Linked DNA regions of Homo sapiens: region 2 is linked to region 1. The links are contacts of gene promoters, found by promoter capture Hi-C in human tissues and cell types (Jung and others, 2019). All regions are on one chromosome and are shown on one strand. Each heading gives the region's core, a stretch centred on a gene start or on the middle of the fragment in contact. The rest is flanking DNA. Distances are from core to core; before and after follow the strand shown.

Region 1 (5,126 bases), core at 2,352-4,851:
ACTCAGGAGGCTGAGGCAGGAGAATGGGGTGAATCTGGGAGGTGGAGGTTGCAGTTGAGCCGAGATCATGCCACTGCACTCCAGCCTGGGCGACAGAGTGAGACTCTGTTTCAAGAATAAAGTAAATAAAGATGAGACACTCCAAGTCAGCCAGGCGTGGTGGCTCACAAAAAAGTTTTTCAAAAAAAGGTTTCATATAAATGGAATCATGCAATAATTGTCTTTGTATTGCTTATTTTCAGGTAGCAGACATCATTTTAGATTCGGCTGGGTGTGGTGGCTCACGCCTGTAATCCCAGCATTTTGGGAGGCCGAGGCGGGTGGTTCACAAAGTCAAGAGATTTTGAGACCATCCTGGCCAACATGGTGAAACCCGTCTCTACTAAAAATACAAAATTAGGTGGGTGTGGTGGCAGATCCCTGTAATCCCAGCTGCTCCGGAGGCTGAGGCAGGAGAATTGTTTGAACCCGGGAGCCGGAGGTTGCAGGGAGCCAAGATTGCACCACTGCACTCCAGCCTGGGCAACAAGAGCAAAACTCTGTCTCAAAAAAAAAAAATCCATCTTTTGGCGTATATCAGTACCTGATTCATTTTGTTTTGTTTTTGTGTTTGTGTTTGAGACAGGGTCTCGCCCTGTTGCCCAGGCTGGAATGCAGTGGCACAGACACAGCTCACTTCAGCCTTGACCACCTGCGCTCAAGCGATCTTCCTGCCTCAGACTCCCATGTAGCTGGGACCACAGGCACATACCACCACACCCAGCTGATTTAAGAAAAAAATTTTTGTAGAGACGGGGTGTTTGTTGCCAAGGCTGGTCCTCAAACTCCTGGCCTCCCACAGTGCAGGGATTACAGGTGTGAGCCCCCACACCAGGCCTGCTTCATTCCTTCTTATGACTGAATAATAGTCCTGTGGAGAGCTCATGTCTTACTCATTCCTCTGCTGATGAACAACAGGGGTGATTTCTGTCTTTTGGCTGTTGGGAATAGTGCTGCTGTGAACACTGGTGTGCGAGTGTCTGCTTAAGTCCTTTTATTTAGGGGGAGTGGAATTGTCAGGTCATGAGGTAACTCTGTTTATTTTGTGGAATTGCCAAACTGTTTTCTTTGCACTTCTTTTTACTCTTTTTTTTGAGACAAGGCCTTGCTCCGCTGCCTAGGCTGGATCTCGGCTCACTGCAGCCTCGATCTCCCAGGCTCAAGTTATCCTCCTACTTCATCCTCTTGAGTAGCCGGGACTATGCCACCACGCCACCATGCCCAGCTAATGTTGTTTTTTTTAAATTTTTTTGTAGAGATGGGGTCTCACTTTGTTGCCCAGGCTGGTGTTGGACTCCTTGGCTTAAGTGATCCTCCCACCTTGGCCTCCCACAGTGCCAAGATTCCAGGCGTGAGCCACTGTGCCCAGCCATGCCGAACTGTTTGCATAGCAGCTTCACCATTTTACATTCCCAGCAGCAATGTATGAGGGTTCCAGTTTTTCCACATCCCACACTTGTTATTTTCTGTTTCTTTAAATTGTAGCTATCAGCCTGGTGTGCTGGCTCACGCCTGTAATCCCAGCACTTTCGGAGGCCGAGGTGGCTGGATCGCTTGAGGTCAGGAGTTGGAGATCATCCTGGCCAACATGGCAAAACCCCATCTCTACTAAAAATACAAAAATTAGCTGGGCATGGTGGCAGACGCCTGTAATCCCAGCTACTTGGGGGGACTGAGGCAGGAGAATCGCTTCAACCTGGGAGGCAAAGGTTGCAGTGAGCTGAGGTCACACCCCTGCACTCCAGCCTAGGCGACAGAGCAAGACTCTGTCTCAGGGGAAAAAGAAAAAAAAAGGGTAACATGGTGATGTGAACTTTTGAAATTTTCTCTTTAGTATATAAGTTTAGTTTTGCTTTATAGTTGTGCATTCTCCAGCAGCGGTGGGAGTGGGGAGGGGATATTCTAAATGCCAAGGTGACCTGGCCCGCTGACCACAGAGCCCAAGGCCTTCCATGGAAACACCATCCACCCACTGTGTCTTACTTTCATACCCTCATCGTCCGGAAATGCAGTACAGCCTGTCCTGTCCAGCCTTGCCCCAGGTGACTGTGGTCACTATATTACATGCTCATCTGTGTCGTGTGTGTCTGTCATGAGCGTCTCAGGCCCATAAGGGCAGGGATGCTGCGGGCTCTGTCCCCTGAATATCTGCCCACAGGGTGCTGAGGATCCCTTGGCCTTCACTTTCTGCCCAGTCACCGACCTGTCACCCACACCTGTCTTTCCTCCTTGTTTTGTGACAATGAAAAAAGTTTTTCTGCTTCCTCAAAATTTATTTTCAGACAGGCGCAGTGACTCACGCCTGTAATTTCAGCACTTTAGGAGGCCAAGGCCACAGGATCACCTGAGGCCGGGAGCTCAAGAGGAGCCTGGCCAACGTGGTAAAACCCTGTCTCTACTAAAAATACAACAATTGGCCAAGTGCGGTGGCTAACGCCTGTAATCCCAGCACTTTGGGAGGCCGAGGAAGGTGGATCACCCGAGATCAGGAGTTTGGGACCAGCCTGGCCAACATGGTGAAACCCCGTCTCTACTAAAAATATAAAAATTAGCCAGGTTTGGTGCTATGCCTGTAATCCCAGCTACTCAAGAGGCTGAGGTGGGAGAATTGCTTGAACCTGGGAGGTGGAGGCTGCAGTGAGCCAAGATTGTGCCACTGCACTCCAGCCTAGGCAGCAGAGCAAGACCCCATCTCAAAAAAAAAAAAAAATAGCTGGGTGTGGTGGGCACCTGTAATCCCAGCTACTTGGGAGGCTGAGGCAGGAGAATCAGTTGAACCCGGGAAGAGGAGGCTGCAGTGAGCTGAAATTGCGCCACTGCACTCCGGCCTGGGTGACAGAGTGAGACTCCATCTTAAAAAGTTTGTTTTCTGTGTCATTTTATGGTGCGGAATCCAAGTTCCATTTTGTAAGAAACTGAAACTTTATGAAATGATTAGTTCCTTATATCATGAGTCATTGCAGAAAAAGTGAATTCTGTTGGGTTCTACAGCACAGGTGGGACGCGTGTCAGTGGCTTTGCCCACCTGTTACGGCCACCAGCGGGTTGGTCCTTGTCACCCAGACCCTCGCCACAGTCAGAAGTGGCTTGGCTTCACTGGTGACTTGCAGTGACACTCTGGAGAATCCACGATGCCCTGAGTCACCCTTTGCTTCTAGGACAGTGTTAGGCGGAAACACCCTTCACTGAGAGCCTGAGTTCCCGGAGACCTGGTTCCATGACAGCAGCTGGTCCTCCACGAGCCCTGGGGTGGAACTGCCTCCACTTCCCCTCTGGGAACAGAAGAGCCTGGTGCCGTCTCCTGGCAGGGATACTGCAGCTCACAGCTGGCTCTGTGGGATCATGTCCCCAAGGCTGACCGGTGATGTCAGCGCAGCTGCCCCTTTCCCAGGGACTGGGGTTGTCTGGTAGAGAGCCAGGCGGGGCTCTGTCTCCACTTATTGCCCAAGGTCCCTGGGTAACAGGGAGGGTGGGCTCAGGCCTCCCTGGCTGGGGGAGCGGGGGGGGCTGGGCTCCCTGCCCCCCCAAGGTGGTAAAAGGGGCCCCGCAGCTGGCAGGCCCCACACCTTCTGAGGCAGCGGCATGGCTTCCCTCTGGCTCCTCTCCTGCTTCTCCCTTGTGGGGGCCGCCTTTGGTGAGTGCTGGTGCCCGAGGGGTCTGTCCTGAGGGAGCCCTGAGCCTGGCTGAGAGGGGGATCTGAGTCCCCTGCTCTGCCCCCTGGGGCCTCATCCCCAGCACAGGTAACCTGAGGGCTCAGGAGAGGGTGCATTCTGGGGCTTTCTGAGCCCACACAACCTGCTCCAGGAGTGGGAAGGACGATGCTGGTCTCTGCCATGGTCTGAGGCTCCAGAAGTGGCTGGGGTGGGGGTGCCTTGTGCAGGGTAAGGTGTGGCCCCAGGAGACCTCCCAAGGCCTCCACCGGGGTTTTTATTGTGCTGGGTACTTGTCAAGCATTTTCTTCCTTTCTTTCTTTTTTTTTTTTCGAGACAGAATTTCACTCCTATTGCCGAGGCTGGAGTGCAATGGTGCAATCTCCACTTACTGCAACCTCCATCTCCTGGGTTCAAATGATCTTCCTGCCTCAGCTTCCCGAGCAGCTGGGACTACAGGCATGGACCACCAACCCTGGCTAATTTTTAGTAGAGACGGGCTTTCACCACGTTGGCCAGGCTGGTCTTGAACTCCTGACCTCAGGTGATGCCCCCGCCTCGGCCTCCCAAAGTGCTGGGATTACAGGCATGAGCTACTGTGCCCAGCCGTGTTTTCTATTTTTTAAAAGAGAAATAGTAAAAGAAAATACAGAAAAGAATATGACATCCTTGTATCTACTGTCAGAATTCAGCAAATCTTTTTGCACATTTGCTTCAGATATTTCTAAAACAGATTGTACTCAGGCTTCCCTTTTCTCCCTCCTTCCCTCTCTGGAATGTGAGCTTGATTCTGAACTTTCTATGAATAATTGCAGTGTGAGCTTATACAATTGTACTACATATTTTTATACATCTATACATAAGGTTTCAAAAAGGTTACATCAATGGAACGGTATTCTATCCTGTTTTTGGTTTTGGTTTTGGTTTTGGTTTTGAGACAGGGTCTCACTCTGTCACCCAGGCTGGAGTGCAGTAGTGTGAGTTTGCAGCCTCAAACTCAAGGGCTCGAGTGATCCTCCCACTATAGCCTCCCGAGTAGCTGGCGCTACAGGCACGCTAAGTTTAAAAACTTGTTTTGTTTTGTAGAGATGGAGGTTTTTTTTGTTATTTTTTTTTCTTTTCTTTGAGACAGAGTTTCACTCTTGTCACCCAGGCTGGAGTGCAGTGGCGTGATCTTGGCTCACTGCAACCTCCGCCTCCTGGGTTCAAGCATTTCTCCTGCCTCAGCCTACTGAGTAGCTGGGATTACAGGCATGCATCACCACACCTGGCTAATTTTTGTATTTTTAATAGAGATGGGGTTTCACCATATTGGTCAGGCTGGTCTTGAACTCCTAACCTCCAGTGATCCGCCCACCTCAGCCTCCCAAAGTGATGGGATTACAGGCGTGAGCCCCCATGCCCGACCTGGGGTCTTATTATGTTGTCCAGGCTGGT
Region 2 (5,078 bases), core at 1,868-4,367, 250 kb after region 1:
ATTCTCCTGCCTCAGCCTCCTGAGTAGCTGGGATTACAGGTGCCCACCACCATGCTCTGCTAATTTTTGTATTTTTAGTAGAGACAGGGTTTTGCCATCTTGGCCAGGCTGGTCTCGAACCCCTGACTTCGTGATCCACCCACCTCGACCTCCCAAAGTGCTGGGATTACAGGCATAAGCCACCACACCCAACCCATATTTTCCTCTTAATTCAAGAACATTAGCAAGACTGTTTATTAGAATTTTCTCCTGAGCCGGGCGCGGTGGCTCACACCTGTAATTCTGGCACTTTGGGAGGCTGAAGCAGGCAAATTGTCTGAGCTCAGGAGTTCCAGACCAACCTGAGCAACATGGTGAAACCCCATCTCTACTAAAATAGAAAAAATTAACTGGGAATGGTGGTGTGTGACTGTAGTCCCAGTTACTCAGGAGGCTGAGGTAAGAGCATTGCTTGAACCCGGGAGCCACTGCACTCCAGCGTGGGCAACAAAGCCAGACTCCATCTCAAAAAGAAAAAAGGCCGGGCGTGGTGGCTCACACCTGTAATCCCAGCACTTTGGGAGGCAGAGACGGGCGGATCACGAGGTCAGGAGATCGAGACCATCCCTGGCTAACACGGTGAAACCCCGTCTCTACTGAAAATACAAAAAAATTAGCCGGGCGTGGTGGCAGGTGCCTGTAGTCTCAACTACTCGGGAGGCTGAGGCAGGAGAATGGTGTGAACCCAGGAGGTGGAGCTTGCAGTGAGCTGAGATTGCGCCACTGCACTCAATCCTGGGCGACAGAGCGAGACTCCGTCTCAAAAAAAAAAAAAAAAAAAAAAAGAAACAGAAGTCTCTCTTGAAACCTCCGTTTAGGAAGCTTCCTCCTGCCAGTTCCCTACCACTACAATTGGCGTTTTGCATCAACCAAGAAACCTATCTAAAATAAAAATAGGAAGTATAAAAAGGGTCAGGAAATACTGACCTTTTAACCATGCTGTCTTTTTGGTACATTTCCCAGACTAGCAGAGTCTATTAGAAGTGGAAGAAACCGCTGGGCGTGGTGGCTCATGCCTGTAATCCCAGCACTTTGGGAGGCTGCGGCGGGTGGATCACGAGGTCAGGAGTTTGAGACCAACCTGACCAACATGGTGAAACCCCGTCTTTACTAAAAATACAAAAATTAGCCGGGCATGGTGGCATGTGCCTGTAATCCCAGCTACTCAGGAGGCTGAGGCAGGAGAATTGCTTGAACCTGGGAGGTGGAGGTTGCGGTGAGCCGAGATCGCACCATTGCACTCCAACCTGGGCGACAGAGCAAGACTCTGTCTCAAAAAAAAAAAAAAAAAAAGAAAAAGGGCCAGGTGTGGTAGGTCACACCTGTAATCCCAGCACTTTGGGAGGCCGAGGCAGGCAGATCACGAGGTCAGGAGTTCCAGAACAGCCTGACCAACATGGTGAAACCCCATCTCTACTAAAAATACAAAAATTAGCCGGGCCTGGTGGCATGCGCCTGTAATCCCAGCTACTTGGGAGGCTGAGACAGGAGAATTACTTGAACCCGGGAGGCAGAGGTTGCAGGAGCCGAGATCGTGCCATTGCACTCCAGTCTGGGCAACAAAATGAGACTCTGTCTCAAAAAAAAAAAAAAAAAAAAAAAATCAGCTGGGCGTGGTGGTGGGCGCCTGTAATCCCAGCTACCGGAGAGGCTGAGGCAGGAGAATGGCGTGAACCCGGGAGGTGGAGCTTGCAGTGAGCAGAGATCGCGCCACTGCACTCCAGCCTGGGCAACAGAGCGAGACTCCGTCTCAAAAAAAAAAAAAAAAAAAAGTGGAAGAAATCAATTATTGTAGGGTTACATAATCAATTATGTATTACATTAGGAAACATTATTTTGAATTTAGAATTCGATCTTTAGTTCATTTATGAATTGACAGGTTAAAAAAAGACATTTAGCCTTGCAGGACTCAGAAAATGGAGGTTTCCTGGGCCCTGTCTAAGGAAGCCAAGGAGGCGGTCCAGCACACCAGACCCCCTGGCCCCTTGCTGCTCTTTCAACAAGCCAGATGCCTCCCCTCCTTAGGGCTTTTGTGTTAGCTCTTTCCTGCTCCCAGACAGGCTACCCATGATTGCCCTTAACATACTCCCTCACCTCCTGTAAGACTTTCCTCAAATGTCGCTTTCTCACTGAGACCTACCCTGATCACCCCATTAAAAATTACAACTCACACCTCTACACACATATATTCCTCATCCCCCGATCCTTCTCTACTTTAATCCTTGGCACTTTCTAATATGCTAAATAATGTAGCCATTTATTAAGCTTATTCATCAGCTATCTCCCCACCATCAGAATGCAAGTTCCTGAAGGGCAGGGTTGTTGTTGTTGTTGTTTGAGAGAGTCACACTCTATCGCCCAGGCTGGAGTGCAGTGGCGCGATCTCAGCTCACTGCAACCTCCGCCTCCCAGGTTTAAGCGATTCTCCTGCCTCAGCCTCCTGATTAGCTGGGATTACAAGCGTGCACCACCACCACCACGCCTGGCTAATTTTTGTATTTTTAGTAGAGATGGGGTTTCACCATGTTGGCCAGGCTGGTCTCGAACTCCTGACCTCATGATCTGCCTGCCTCGGCCTCCCAAAGTGCTGGGATTACAGGCGTGAGCCACTGCGCCTGGCTGGTTTTTGTTTTGTTTTGTTTTGTTTTGTTTGTTTTTGAGATGGAGTCTCGCTCTGTCGCCCAGGTTGGAGTCCTTTGGCGCCATCTCGGCTCAATTCAACCTCCGCCTCCCGGGTTCAAGCAATTCTCCTGCCTCAGCCTCCTGAGTAGCTGGGACTACAGGTGCATGCCACGATGCCCAGCTAATTTTTATATTTTTAGTAGAGACTGGGTTTCACCATATGGGTCAGGCTGGTCTTGAACTCCTGACCTCAGGTGATCCACCTGCCTCGGCCTCACTAAGGGCTGAGATTAGAGGTGTGAACCACTGCACCCAGCCTAGGGCAGGGGTTTTTGCTTTTTGTCTGTTTTTGGTCCTGCTGTATCTCCAGCTCCTATAATAGCCCAGTGCCTGGTTGGTGCTCAACCCATAATGTGTGTTGAATGAATGAGTGGAGTTCTTGAGGACTGGGAGCAGAATAACACAAGACTTGCAGGACAGGCCAGGTTTTCTGGTCTTACTCCCAAAGGAGAAAATGCTCGATTGGCTGGAATGAATTGCCATCTTGGAAAAATGGATAGTAGGCCAATCCTTTCCATTTCATCAAGACTTTAGCTCTGGTTCTTTCGTTTTTTGTTTGTTTGAGACAGAGTCTCGCTCTATTACCCAGGCTGGAGTGCAGTGGGGCGATCTTGGCTCACTGCAACCTCTACCTCCTGGGTTCAAGCAATTCTCATGCCTCAGCCTCCCAAGTAGCTGGAATTTCAGGCACATACCACCACGCTTGGCTACGTTTTTGTATTTTTTTTAGTAGGGACAGGGTTTCGCCAAGTTGCCCAGGCTGGTCTCGAACTCCTGAGCTCACGCAATCTGCCCACCTTGGCCTCCCAAATTGCTAGCATTACAGCTGCACCCAGCCTAGCTCTGGTTCTTAAGGAACATGGTCTGAATAGAGTCATTCACAGAATAAGGATTTGCACTGTGAGAGGATATTTAAATTGTAAGAGAATCTGCTGGGGGCAGGTGGTGCTTAAATCTAAATCCATTAACTTGTGAAGGTAGTCGGGATAACCCACTGGACCTCAGCATAGGGGTCACTCGACCTAAAGAAATTGCTCGCCTGATCCACTGGTGTGGAGTGGGCCTGTGGGTGAGGGACAGATTCCAGCCCATGGTGGTTTCAGTGTGTGATGAGTGAGATCATTCAGTAGAGGGCGCTGGGAGAACTGATGACTCGCACCGATCAGGAATATTGCATGCAATTTAGATCCAAGCGTAAAACACTAGACTACTAAAGTACTGGAAGCAAGCGTGAAGACCATTTTTATCACTGTAGCAGGACAAAGTCGTTTCAACAAGACATAAAATCCACTGGCCATAAGGAAAGGATTCACATTCAACAATATGATAAACTAGGTGAAACTTTTTGAAATTTGATTGTGATGAGGTGGTGATTTGATTTCACAGGTATATACAAATGTTTAATCAAACTTTACACTTTATGTGCAGATGTTGTATATCAATTATAGCTCAATGAAGCTTCTTTTTTTTTAAGAAGCCTGAGGGGAAAATGCCATAAAGTAAGTTAACAAAACAACAACAACAAAAAACAGATGACAAGCTAGGAGAAACCATTTGCACAACAAAAATAACAAAGCATATTCAAAAGAGGCTGTGGTAAGTCAACAGCAACATGGGCACAGCCTTGAACAATGAAAAAGGAATACAGTTGAGTCATAAGCATGAAAAGATGTTCAGCTGCCCCAGGAATTAAAGAAGTGCAGACTGAAACATCAAGTAACATTTTTCACCCATCAGGTAGGCAAAAATTAAAACCATTGATTTAACCCTGTAGAGGTGATGGGGCAGTTGTGGCAGTGGTGGGGCGCAGTCTGTAGGAGTGGGTGACAAAGGCACATCAAAGACAAAGCTAGGGGACACAGGGTCTGTGGTGGCCATGAGGAGTTGATACAGTGTTGATGTGGATAATATATCTTCTTGATGCAAAATAACAAAAATAAGGCCCACCATTGATTCCCCAACAGCCTCTTGATAGGTGGGTTCTCTGACCTATTCCAGGCAACACTGTTTCTATGCACCCATCAGCCCATCTAGTGCTTTGATTGCCCCTTCTGAGCTCCCACAGCCAGAGCAGAGGCAGCAAGCGTGCCTGCCCCTAATTGTGGGTGACTGCTGGGCCTAGACACTTCTAGCTGCATCACAGGGCCTACAGGTAAGGGGAGACACTAATTACAGCCCTACCAGCAGGGAGGGAGCCTGGACCCTGGTGGAAATTGGAAGCTGCAGGTGCCAGGAGCCCTCCGTTCTCAAGTGTATCGGTTAGGCAATGCTACGTAACAAACCACCACAACACTCAAATGACTGAAACACAATAAGCACTTTTATTGCTCCTAAAGTCTTCGACTTGGCCGCAGTGC

The links. Contacts are between HindIII fragments. The study calls those that stand out against the background at their distance.
Region 2: a contact is called between a fragment that was not itself captured here and the fragment with the promoter of CTRB1 in region 1, in 3 of the 25 tissues and cell types used here (lymphoblastoid cells, mesenchymal stem cells and stomach).

The regions. Positions count from the first base shown.
Region 1 is chr16:75,215,387-75,220,512 of GRCh38, forward strand. CTRB1 (chymotrypsinogen B1) reads left to right here and starts at 3,602. Exons shown (of 7, transcript NM_001906.6): 1 at 3,602-3,673. The coding sequence starts at 3,622. RefSeq lists an enhancer at 3,140-3,219. The HindIII fragment of the contact is 13,252 bases long and covers 1-5,096 here.
Region 2 is chr16:75,468,105-75,473,182 of GRCh38, forward strand. It overlaps CHST6 (carbohydrate sulfotransferase 6), which reads right to left. Exons shown (of 3, transcript NM_021615.5): 3 at 3,948-5,078. Among named protein-coding and RNA genes, the nearest start is that of TMEM170A, 6.0 kb to the left of the region's middle. RefSeq lists an enhancer at 3,545-4,187. The HindIII fragment of the contact is 5,677 bases long and covers 280-5,078 here.